Linked DNA regions of Homo sapiens: region 2 is linked to region 1. Evidence: promoter capture Hi-C in 16 types of primary human blood cells and fetal thymus (Javierre and others, 2016). All regions are on one chromosome and are shown on one strand. The core of a region is centred on a gene start or on the middle of the fragment in contact, and the rest is flanking DNA. Distances in the headings are between cores, read along the strand shown. Region 1 holds the start of XPA (XPA, DNA damage recognition and repair factor). Region 2 holds the start of FOXE1 (forkhead box E1).

The links. Contacts are between HindIII fragments. The CHiCAGO score rates a contact against its expected background, and 5 or more counts as called.
Region 2: the fragment with the promoter of FOXE1 here is called in contact with the fragment with the promoter of XPA in region 1 in 3 of 17 cell types (megakaryocytes, endothelial precursors and erythroblasts); the score reaches 6.6 in megakaryocytes.

Annotation. Positions count from the first base shown.
Region 1 is chr9:97,695,252-97,700,456 of GRCh38, reverse strand. It overlaps XPA (XPA, DNA damage recognition and repair factor), which reads left to right and starts at 3,117. Exons shown (of 6, transcript NM_000380.4): 1 at 3,117-3,336. The coding sequence starts at 3,165. PTCSC2 (papillary thyroid carcinoma susceptibility candidate 2) reads left to right here. Exons shown (of 11, transcript NR_147055.1): 11 at 386-832. It also overlaps the pseudogene KRT18P13. RefSeq lists a silencer at 2,956-3,055 and enhancers at 3,606-3,655, 3,666-3,725. The HindIII fragment of the contact is 4,221 bases long and covers 1,533-5,205 here.
Region 2 is chr9:97,851,094-97,856,494 of GRCh38, reverse strand. FOXE1 (forkhead box E1) reads right to left here and starts at 3,269. Exons shown (of 1, transcript NM_004473.4): 1 at 1-3,269. The coding sequence starts at 2,580. The coding sequence ends at 1,459. It overlaps PTCSC2 (papillary thyroid carcinoma susceptibility candidate 2), which reads left to right and starts at 3,415. Exons shown (of 11, transcript NR_147055.1): 1 at 3,415-3,579. RefSeq lists an enhancer at 4,301-4,802. The HindIII fragment of the contact is 6,931 bases long and covers 1-5,201 here.

The DNA of each region.
Region 1 (5,205 bases), core at 1,868-4,367:
AGCTGCTCCCTCTGCAAGGCATAGCGGGCCTCGACCTCCCTCAGGCTGTTCTCCAAGCTGGCCTTCAGATTTCTCATGGAGTCCAGGTTGATCTTCAAGGACTGGACTATACATCTCAGCTCCGTGAGCATCATCCCAGCAGCTCCAACCTCGGTGGACTGCGTGGTGACCACTGAGGTGCTCTCCTCAATCTGCTGAGACCAGTATTTGTCCAGCTCCTCTCAGTTCTTCCGAGCCAGCTCATCATATTGGGGCCGGATGTCTGCCATGATCTTGGCAAGGTCCCGAGACTGGGGGCATCTACCTCCATGGTCAACCCAGAGCTGGCAATCTAGGCTTGTAGGCCTTTTGTAATGCCCAACCTCATTTTTCCTTTTTCACCTAGGCTTGTTTCCACCTGAACAGACTCTCCCTTAGCTAAGAGAACCAGACAAACTCCATCTTGGCTCTTTCACTGGCAGCCCCTTCCTCAAGGACTTAACTTGTGCAAGCTGACTCCCAGCACATCCAAGAATGCAATTAACTGATAAGATACTGTGGCAAGCTATATCCACAGTCCCCAAGAATTCATCTGTTTGATAACGCCCAAAGCCCTGCATCTATAACCTTGTAATAGTCTTAAAGCCCCTGCATCTGGAACTGTTTACTTTCCTGTAACCATTTATCCTTTTAACTTTTTGACTACTTAACTTCTGTAAAATTGTTTTAACTAGACGACCCCCCCTTTCTAAACCAAGGTATAAAAGTTAATCAAGCCCCTTCCTCGGGGCCGAGAGAATTTTGAGCGTTAGCCGTCTCTCGGTCGCCGGCTAATAAAGGACTCTTAATTCATCTCAAAGTGTGGCGTTTTTTTAACTCGCTCGGGTACAACACTTTTACTTCCTCTTCGTGGTTCTTCTTCATGAAGAGCAGCTCCTCCTTGAGAGCTTCGATCTCTGTCTCCAGCTGCAGCCGAGTGACACTGGTGTCATCAGTGACCTCCGGAGCCCATGGATGTGGCTCTCCACAGACTGGCGCATGGCCAGCTCTGTCTCATACTTGACTCTAAAGTCATCAGCAGCAAGACCAGCATTGTCAATCTGCAGAACAATGCAGGCATTGTCCACAGTATTTGTGAAGATCTGAGTCCTCAGGCCCTCAATGGTCTTGAAGTAATGGCTCATCTCTGACCTGGGGTCCCTTCTTCTACAGGTGCTCCTGGATTTTACTCTCCAGCTTCCAGTTCTTGGCCTCCAGGCTCCTCATTCTGTCCAGGTAGGAGGCCAGGCAGTTGTTCAGGTTTTGCACGGTCTCCTTCTTGTTCTGGATGCCTCTCATTCCTGCCAGACCCCTGGCCATCCCCGCGGCCAGGCCCCCGGAACCCATGCTGCTCAGGTAGCTGGTGGAGCGGGACATGGAGATCCGGGAACCAGAGCCCCCGTGCCTGTACAGACGCTGGCTATGCTGCTGACCAGCCGGACACCGTAGCTGGGTGCCTGGACAGAACCCAGGGACCGGTAGTTGGTGGAGAAGGTGGAGCGAGTGGTGAAGCTTATGCTGTCCAGGGAGGAGAGTGAGAGGACAGGACTCAGGCTTTGCCGACGACTTTAATTTTTTTTTGAGACAAGATGTTATTGTGTTGCCCAGGCTGGAGTGTAGTGGTGCCATCACAGCTCACTGCAGCCTTGACCTCCTGAGATGGGTTCTTGTTACATTGCCCAGGTTGGTCTTGAACTCCTGGTCTCAAGCAATCCTCCTGTGTTGGCCTCCCAAAGGGCTGGGATTACAGACATGAGCCACTGCACCTTGCCAATTATTATTATTTTTTAATAGTGACAGGGTCTCACTGTGTTGCCTCAGCTTGTCTTGAACTCATGACCTCAAGTCATCCTCCTGCCTTGGCCTCCCAAACTGTTGAGATTACAGGTGTGAACCACTGTGCCCAGCCTAGTTTTTAATTTTAATGAAGTCCAGCTTTTTTTCTTTTGTTGCTTGTGCTTTTGATGTTATGGAATTTGAAATAGTTTCACCTGGGCAAGATTGATGGGTAGGGAGAAAGAAGGATCTGAGGGGAAGGGAGATGGGGATGGCTTGAGATTCTATCTCCAATTCAACCTAAGATTTCAGCAGGTAACTGCTTTATACGAGGTTTTGCAGCTTTATGTATATATGACCGATAAATTAGAACACTGAATTGTGTTTCTGAAAGGTTAACCATTGAACATTAGTGGGAAACATCAGTGTGTGAGGTTGTCTTTCTAAAAGCCAGTCCTAAATGGTACATGTAGTAATTAGAAGTTAATGTTTTCTGGTTTCAATTAAGCATTATTTGTAACAAAGGGAAAGCATACATTTTTGGGAAAGCCTGCTATGTTTCTTTTGTTACACTAGCCACACTTTTGGGAAGTCAGGATATTTGGCCCAGATCCAAACCCACTGTCTACCTGGCAGTAGCTCATCCTCACTGAAGGAATATTCCATGGGAAAGATAGCCAACCTTATGCATATCAGCCTTGGAGCAAGTCCTGCATTTGCCTGAGGTCACACAGCAAGTTAACTGGGAGTTTCAACCCAGGTCTTCTCATTTTAAATCTAAGGCTGTGTCTCTAGGCCGTGTATCCAACATAAAATCAGGACTATCATCTGTTGGGCTCTATGACTGGCACTACTACTACTCACTGTTACCATTTTTTGAGGTCTTCTACGTGCCAGGTTATTGTCCTGGCAATCTAATCCTCCCAAAGACTCGGTAAATGGTTCCATAATTATCCTCATTTTACCACTGAAGAAACTGAACTCTGGTTAAATAACTTGCCCAAGGTCACACAGACTTTAACTGTCAAGAGCTCAGACTTAACCCAGGCCTGACTCCAAAGCCTATACTCTGAATCACCAAGCGAGACCTATTTTAAAGGTGACCAGGTCGTGAGATATGATCTCAGCACGGACCCTTCTCCCGGATGACAAGAGAGCAGGTAGTTAGGCGGGTACTCCGTGTCCGCGCATACCCAGACTCCGCCCAGCGCCCGGGCAGGCCACCCCGAGCCCCTTAACTGCGCAGGCGCTCTCACTCAGAAAGGCCGCTGGGTGCGGGGAGCGCAGAGGCGGTGCAGGGCGGCTGGCTCGCCTCGGCGTGCAGTGCGCGTGCGTGGAGCTGGGAGCTAGGTCCTCGGAGTGGGCCAGAGATGGCGGCGGCCGACGGGGCTTTGCCGGAGGCGGCGGCTTTAGAGCAACCCGCGGAGCTGCCTGCCTCGGTGCGGGCGAGTATCGAGCGGAAGCGGCAGCGGGCACTGATGCTGCGCCAGGCCCGGCTGGCTGCCCGGCCCTACTCGGCGACGGCGGCTGCGGCTACTGGAGGTTTGGGCCGCGTCCGCGCTTTCCCCTTCCCTCTCCCCGCCTCCCCGGTCCCCAGACTGGCTCGTGCAAGCCGAGTCCCGGGGCCCGGGGGTCGCGTCAACTCCGCTGGCGTATGTGTGCAGATTCTCCCCGAGTCGGAGAGGGAATCCGCCCAGCCAGCCGCCTTGTCAAAGCGTCCTGTCCACGACCACAGAGCGTTCCTCTGTCGCACGCGGGCCTCCTGACCCCCAGCCCCGGGCCTTCTTCGCTGCACCTCGGCTGCTGGCAGCTTCGATTTTTCGTTTAGGGATGCAGCCGCCCCGGCCGGGAGGTGTCAGCCACTGCCAGGTGTCAGGGCCTCAGCTGTCCCGGAAAGAGGAGTTAGACTAGTTCTTGATTCTGGCCTCTATACCTAGAACTAGTTGATGGAAGAGGCAGATCTTGGTGTTTGTTAGGGAGAGCTTTCAACAATTAGAGTTGCCAAAAGTGCAATGGATTGCTTCTCATGAGCTTCCCGTTACTAGAAGCGCTCAAATAGGAACTGGAAGAACGCTTACTTATGTGGAGGAGAGGAGATTCAGCAATCAGAATCTCCTACTCAGCAATCAGAAGAAGGGACTGGATAGTAAACCTTTAAGATTCTAATCCATAGATTCCATGAGTCTATTTCTTGGACATGTGACCTCTGCGATTTCTTGGCAAAAACTAGTTGCTCAAAACGTGTTTATTGATTGAAGTAAATTAAGGACTGATCTCTCATTGCAGATTATTCTCTTATAGAATTTGCCACTGGGGTCAACTAATAATCTTTAACAGGATACTTAAAATATAGTTTGGTTGACAGGCAGTTCTTCAGGGCTGCCTCTATAACATGAAGTACATGTGTTCCTAAAGCTCTATACTGCCCTTTGTCGAGCACAGTTTAGAGCTGTATTACTCTTTTTTATCAGCCAGATGTAGTGAGAGTGAGAAGAGTCTGAGGCTGGCAGCATGTCTTGATGTTCATACTAACACCGAAACTGCAAATTCCAGCTACTTTTGATGGTACTGGTCTCATCCTTTCTACTTTATAGTGGTTACCTTTTATTCCTTTCTAAACTTGAGGCACGCTAGAGTCAGACAGAAAGTTCATTTGCACTGATTAATTCATAGTCATGATTCCATAAAGGTTTCCAGGTCTACGACATGGCTGTGGAACGGAAGGTGCAAAATAGCAAAAACTGACATTAAATTAAACTTTTGATCATGGAAAGCAAGGTAGAATGAACATTCTTTAAGATTTCTTAGGCAGTTCCCCAAGAACTGAACTGTATTGTAGCATTGTGTACAACCCACCATGTTTCAAGAGTTAGGTAAGTGCTGAGATTTTTATCTTTGTGACACTTTTATTTCATGGTACTATACAATTTTCTTTTTCTCTGTGTGCCATGACATATGCCATGAAAGACTGAAAAAACTTGCTTAGAATACGAAGAGTGGTGCTAAGGTCCTGGGGAAACAGCAAGGCATAGCAGCAGAGAGAAATCGGACTTTGTTTTGGGCATGAGTTAGCATTGTTTAGGATCCTGCTCAAGTCATGGGCTCGACTACTCCAGCTTTCCCTCTTCTTAATTCTCATTGTGTTTACTGTCATTCCATTCATTTACTTTGCTATTTATATTACATATTCTGGTAGGTTCATTCATTTCTATCCATCCAGTTGGTACTCATGGAATGTTTACTATTTGTCAGAAGTATACAAGTAAAGGCACTCAGTCTAATGAAGGGATACAGAGAGATGAACAGGCATTATAGTGTGAGAATTGCTGTTAACAGTGGAAACAAGTTTATAATCTAATCCTTTCATTTAATAGAGGGAGAAATTGAGGCCAGAGAAGGGGAGTGACTGTA
Region 2 (5,401 bases), core at 2,020-4,519, 160 kb before region 1:
TGTTAAGTTTATACAGAAAGAGGCTGAGTTTCTCTTGCCATAACTCACTTGCTCAAAGATTTTTATTAAAACAGTCCATCTGAACACTCCAGTTTATCTGAAAGCTGTGAATGGAGCCTCTGAAATATTTAATGCTGAAAGTTTTTGCTCCAGAATCGAAACTTAAAGATTTCTCAAGGGAAAGGGGGAGAGTTATTGGACTTTCTCTAATTTTAGTGAGCCTGCTACTTAAGCAAGATACAAAATGAAGTTAAAATTCCAGTTTCTTTCTAAAGCTCACTTTACTGACTGCCCTAACTTAATTTTTCTCTTTCCTTTTTGCATGGGGGAGGCTGCTGAGGTGTAGCAGGGGGTGCTGGGGATGGAAGAGCCCTCCCCAGCTACTGAAAGGCGTCACCAACGGGCTCCTTGAATCCTCTCATCTCCTTAAACTTTAGTTCACCCTTTGGGTCCAGGGCTGCGTGATGACAAGAAACAGTGGACAAATGAACGAATGTACTTCTCTCTGCCTTATAATGGAAAAGCAGATTTATGACTGGGCAGTAACAGCCATGAAATTACCAGCACGTCCTGCTCAAAAGTTCAATAAGTTATGATATAATTGCTGCCTGGAGCCAATCCTGGGACTTTAGGTTAGACGCTTGGCCATGAACTCTTTTCCGTTCCCTAGAACAGCGGCTAGGCTTTGGGTGGCTACTCAGAGGCCCTGGGTGGCCCACCATTGCTGCCAAATACGCAGGGCAGCATCCAAGATGATGGGGCCCTGAATGATAACCCGGGGGCGGTGGATAGAGTCCTGCAGCCCTCTAGTGTAACAGATGGGGGAGACTGAAGGTTCAGGTGATGGGACTGGAGTGCTGACGCACAGTTCAACTCGGAGCTAGGTCTCAAGTTCTCAGAGACAGGGAAAACCAGCCCAGGTCAACCAGAGCAGAGATTTCTCCAATTTAAAAAAGAAGAAAAGCCTATTTCTTTTGCAAATTTGTCCTCCTCACTTTAAGAAGAAAGGCGCTGCCGCAGCCTTTTATTGTAGTAACGCAGTTAAAGGCACTAGAGGACGAACCGCGTAAAAAGGCCCGAGTTCCGGCAGCACATGGAAGGCTGAAACTGATTCCCCACAATTTGGATCCTGGTCTCTGGTGTTGACACTACGCTGCCCTCTGGTTACCGCCAAGGACCCTCCCCGATAGAATACCAGAAAGCATCCCGTTTGAGGGCTTCGCTCCATCGAGGGTCCCTGTGCCAGTCCAAGGGCTCTGGCTGCCTCGCCCCACCTCCTCCCGTTTACAGAGTACACCGGGTGCCTACGCTGTGCGCGGGGAGACCGAGCCTCTGTGGCCTGCTCGGTCTTTTCCACGTGGGTCCCAGTTGAGTCCTCTCTCCATTCCTGTTCGTTCTCAGATTGCGGGGAACGTGTGAACAGCCGATGTGTCTATGAGTTTTCGTCCCTACGCTGGCTCACATGGCGGACACGAACCGATCTATCCCACCGGGATAAGCGGCAGCATGGCGAGCATGGTAGGCGCCTGCACTGGCCCCTCCGAGCTGCCCGCCAGGGTTGTAGCAGGCTCCCAGCGCTCCGAACTGGCCGGGCGACGTGCGCCCGTAGAAGTCCACCGTGGTCTCCACGCCGCCACTGCTGCCGCCCGCTGGGGGCGAAGCGGGTCCCGCCAGGCGGCCAGCAGCGGCAAAGATCGCACTGCCGGCGCCCTGCGGGTACGCGCCGTCGGGGCCCGCGTAGGCAGCCGCATAGGCGGAGGGGTTGGCCGGCCGGGCCCCGGTGCAGCCTGCGGGCTGGTAGCCGGTGGTGGTAGCGGGGGCGCCGGCGGAGGCAAAGGCGCAAGAGCCGCCGGGCCCCGACGGTGCGGGCCCCAGCTCTGGGCTGAGCGGCCGCTCAGGAACCAGGCCGAAGACGCGGCAAGGGCCGGGCGACGCCGCGGGGTAGTAGACTGGAGGCGGCGCGGCCAGCGACGGCGGCGCGTAGCCTGCATAGACGGCGCCCGGGTAGGGGGGGCGCGCGGCGGGCACCGCGCCTGGGAAGATGGCGGCGGCGGCGGCGGCGGCGGCGGCGGCGGCTGCGGCAGCCGCCGCGTCGTGCATGTAAGCCGGGTAGGTGGAGAGGTCCGAGCGCTTGAAGCGCTTGCGGCGGCGCAGGAAGCTGCCGCTCTCGAACATGTCCTCCGCGTTGGGGTCAAGCGCCCAGTAGTTGCCCTTACCCGGGCGGCCGGCCTCGCGCGGGATCTTGAGGAAGCAGTCGTTGAGTGTGAGGTTGTGGCGGATGCTGTTCTGCCACTTTTTGGGGTTGTCGCGGTAGAAGGGGAAGCGCTCGGTGATGAACTTGTAGATGCCGCCCAGCGTGAGGCGGCGCTCGGGCGCGTGCGCGATGGCCATGGCGATGAGCGCGATGTAGCTGTAGGGCGGCTTCCCGCGCTGCAGGGGGCGCTTGCGGCGCCGCCCGCCCGCCCCGCGGCCCGTGGCCTCCCCTGGGACCCCGGCCCCTGCTGCCGTCTCGCCGCGCTCTTCCTTCACGGTAGCCAGCACCTCCGGCTGCGGCGGCGGCGGCCCGCTCTCGGCAGTCATGGCGCGGGCGTCCCGCACCCCCGGGCTCTGGATCCCCGCGGCTGTCGGGGGGCGGGGGCGGGCCTGGCGTCCCCGGAACGGACGCTCGGCCCTTCTGCGGAGAGCTCAGGGGATCGTCGCGGGCTGGCCCCGAGAGCCCAGCGGCCCAGGCTGGCACGCGCTGGAGGCTCAGCGTCCGTGGTCTGGGGCTGGCGCGGTGCAGACAGAGGCTCGGGAGTGACCCGCTAGCCGACGGCTCAGCCCGCGTGGTGCTTCTCGAGGCGGGCAGCGGCGGTGGCCTCGTGACCGGGACTGGACTCTGGTCTCCGGCTGAAGGGTCCCTTGCGCGCTGGTGCCGGGCGGTCGAGGGGTCCGGAAGTGATCCCTGGGTTGGGGTGGCTGCAGCTGGTCTGTGGTGCCCGCTAGTTTAGGATTACTGCCTAGGTTGTGCGCGCAGAAGAGGCTTCGGGCTCGAAGGCCAGAGCGAGGGCAGTTAGTACTGGCGCTGGGCGATCTGGCGGGGGCCGCCCATGCCCTGCCCCCGAGGCCAAGGTGGCCGTAAGCGCCACGGGCAGAGAGGCGAGGCGGGGGCAGCGAGGTCGGGGCGCGGGCCCAGGCGGGGCGACCTGAGGCTGGTCCTCTCCACGGCGTGGGTCTCCAGCCCTGCGGACCGCTGGCGAGGCGCTCCCCTGCACACACCGGACCGGCTCCTCCCTCCGCCGGCTTCCCCTCCTTAAAGGGGCCACGAAGCGTGGGGCGGCACCGGTTCCCTGCCCGCCCCCCGACTGCCCGCCCCCCGGGGCCCGGGCGCACCTCCCCAGGTAGGAGCAGCTGTGGCGGCGCGGTAGGAGCCCCACAGCGTCAGGGCGGGGAGGGCGCTTGGAGATCCCCCGGGTCGGCCCCCTCCGCACCCCGATCGACTGAGGCCCGGAGAGTTCAGGAACCGGCTCGGGAGACCTCAGCGCCCGAACTCGGAGTTTTCGGACTTTTCAGGCCTCTGCCAAGGGCTTGGACTCGCAGGTGAAAGGACGGGCTCATCTCACTTTTTTGTCCTGAGAGGGTGAGAATTGGCCGAGAGGGCGCTTGGTTTTTGTGGGAATGGGGAGGGAGAAGTTCCAGGAGACTGGCTCCCCGGGCCTTTCAGGATGGTTTCCAAACCCCAATCGTGGCTGCCACAGCCACTCGGCACTCCAGTCCCCCCATCTTTCGAATGAGTATTCCTAGGCCCGAAAGGGAAGGTGACTTGCCATGGCCCCACTGCGGCTTCTCCGCTTAGCGGAGTCTCCAACCTGCGTCTCCTTTAGGACTGCGCTTCCCAACTGTGTGGTAGAGGTAGCCGCTTTCCCTTTTTGGGCCCCAGGTCCCTCGACTGTACCGGGGTCTGGATCTCTCAAGAGTCCTTGCGTGGTAGATATTTAGGGATAGGCCAATCACCACCCCCAATCATCCGTCTTTGAGAGGCCCAGGATCTGTCTCTATTTGATGGATAGTGGTGCACGGATTAAAGACGACGCAGGATAGGTAACCTCCTCCTCCAATCCCCCGGGACCAGGGTAGCTCTGAAGACCCCCAGAGGCAGCCAAGCAGCCCCTTCCCGCAGCGGGGAGTGAGGGCTGCGGGTAATGGGGGAGTGGGAAGAGAGCGGTGGCCGGGTGGGCGCGTCTCCGGGGGAAGGGGCGGGCAGTCGGGACACGTTTGCTTCATGGGTGTCCAATTTCTGAGTTCCTTTCCTGCTGTCCCTGAGCCGGAACTTGGTCCTAACCTGAGATCCTCGCGGCGCGGCCCCTCTGGCCCGGGTTCGTTCCCTGGCCATTCACTGGGAGATCCAGGGCCTGTCCTTGTCCCCTCGCAGGGCCTCAGTGTTCTACTCTGTTAAATAGCAGCTGGAGGGCGTGTGCTGATCTCCGAGGCCCCTGCTACGTATAGGATTCCGGGCCTTGGCGCGGGTTCCAGTGGCTCCAGCCCGGACGCAGCTTTCCGGGGTGGGGGGGGGGGGCGGGCCGGGGCTGTGGGTGCAGAGCCGCGCGGATGGTGGTGCCAGGTGAGTGTGGGAGATCCCAAGACGAGAGTTCTGGCCAGTAACGGGTGGCATGCCTTCCAGGGTTTTAGTCGCGTTCTTCGTGGCGGTGAGCTGAGGGCAGGCTAAGCCCGGCCAAGCGTTGGGCAGCTGCCTTCGGAAGAGCGAGGCAAAGCCCAGATCCTTGCTCCGTCGACCCGGTGTGTGGAAACGCTCAAAGCGTTTGCTTGACAACCTTCTGCGGCAGAGGGTTGGTCGAACGAAGGGAGAGGGGCTTTACACTCGCTAAACAAAACTCCTGGTTTCCTTCTTCCCAAGTAATGGAGAAGCAAAAAACCCAGATTTCGTCCTGTTTCGTTTTTACAAAGGAGGAAAAACTTCAAATTTTAAAATTTTTAACTGGATTATATTATAGGCACCTTTTAATACGGGATTTCGTGGCTCTCAGTAACTTTCAAGATTCTGAGATTCAGATATCTAGATTTTAAATTCTGGACGACCGTTGTCCTAACGTGATTCCATAAATCTAAAGAATGCGATCCTGCGATCCTGCGACCCTGTAATTCTAAGATTCCAAGACTGGGAGTCTAACTTTGACTATGCTTATATTCCTTTGACTTAAGCTTCTAGTCAAAGTCTAAAAACCTATGTATTAAGATACTGGGACTAAACCAGGCACGGTGGCGGGAGCCTGTAGTCCCAGCTACTGGAGGTTAAGGCAGGAAGATCGCTTGAGCCCAGGAGTTCCAGGCTGTAGTGCACAATCATTGTGCCTGTGAGTAGCCACAGCACTCCAGCCTGTGCAGCAAAGGGAGACCCGGTCTC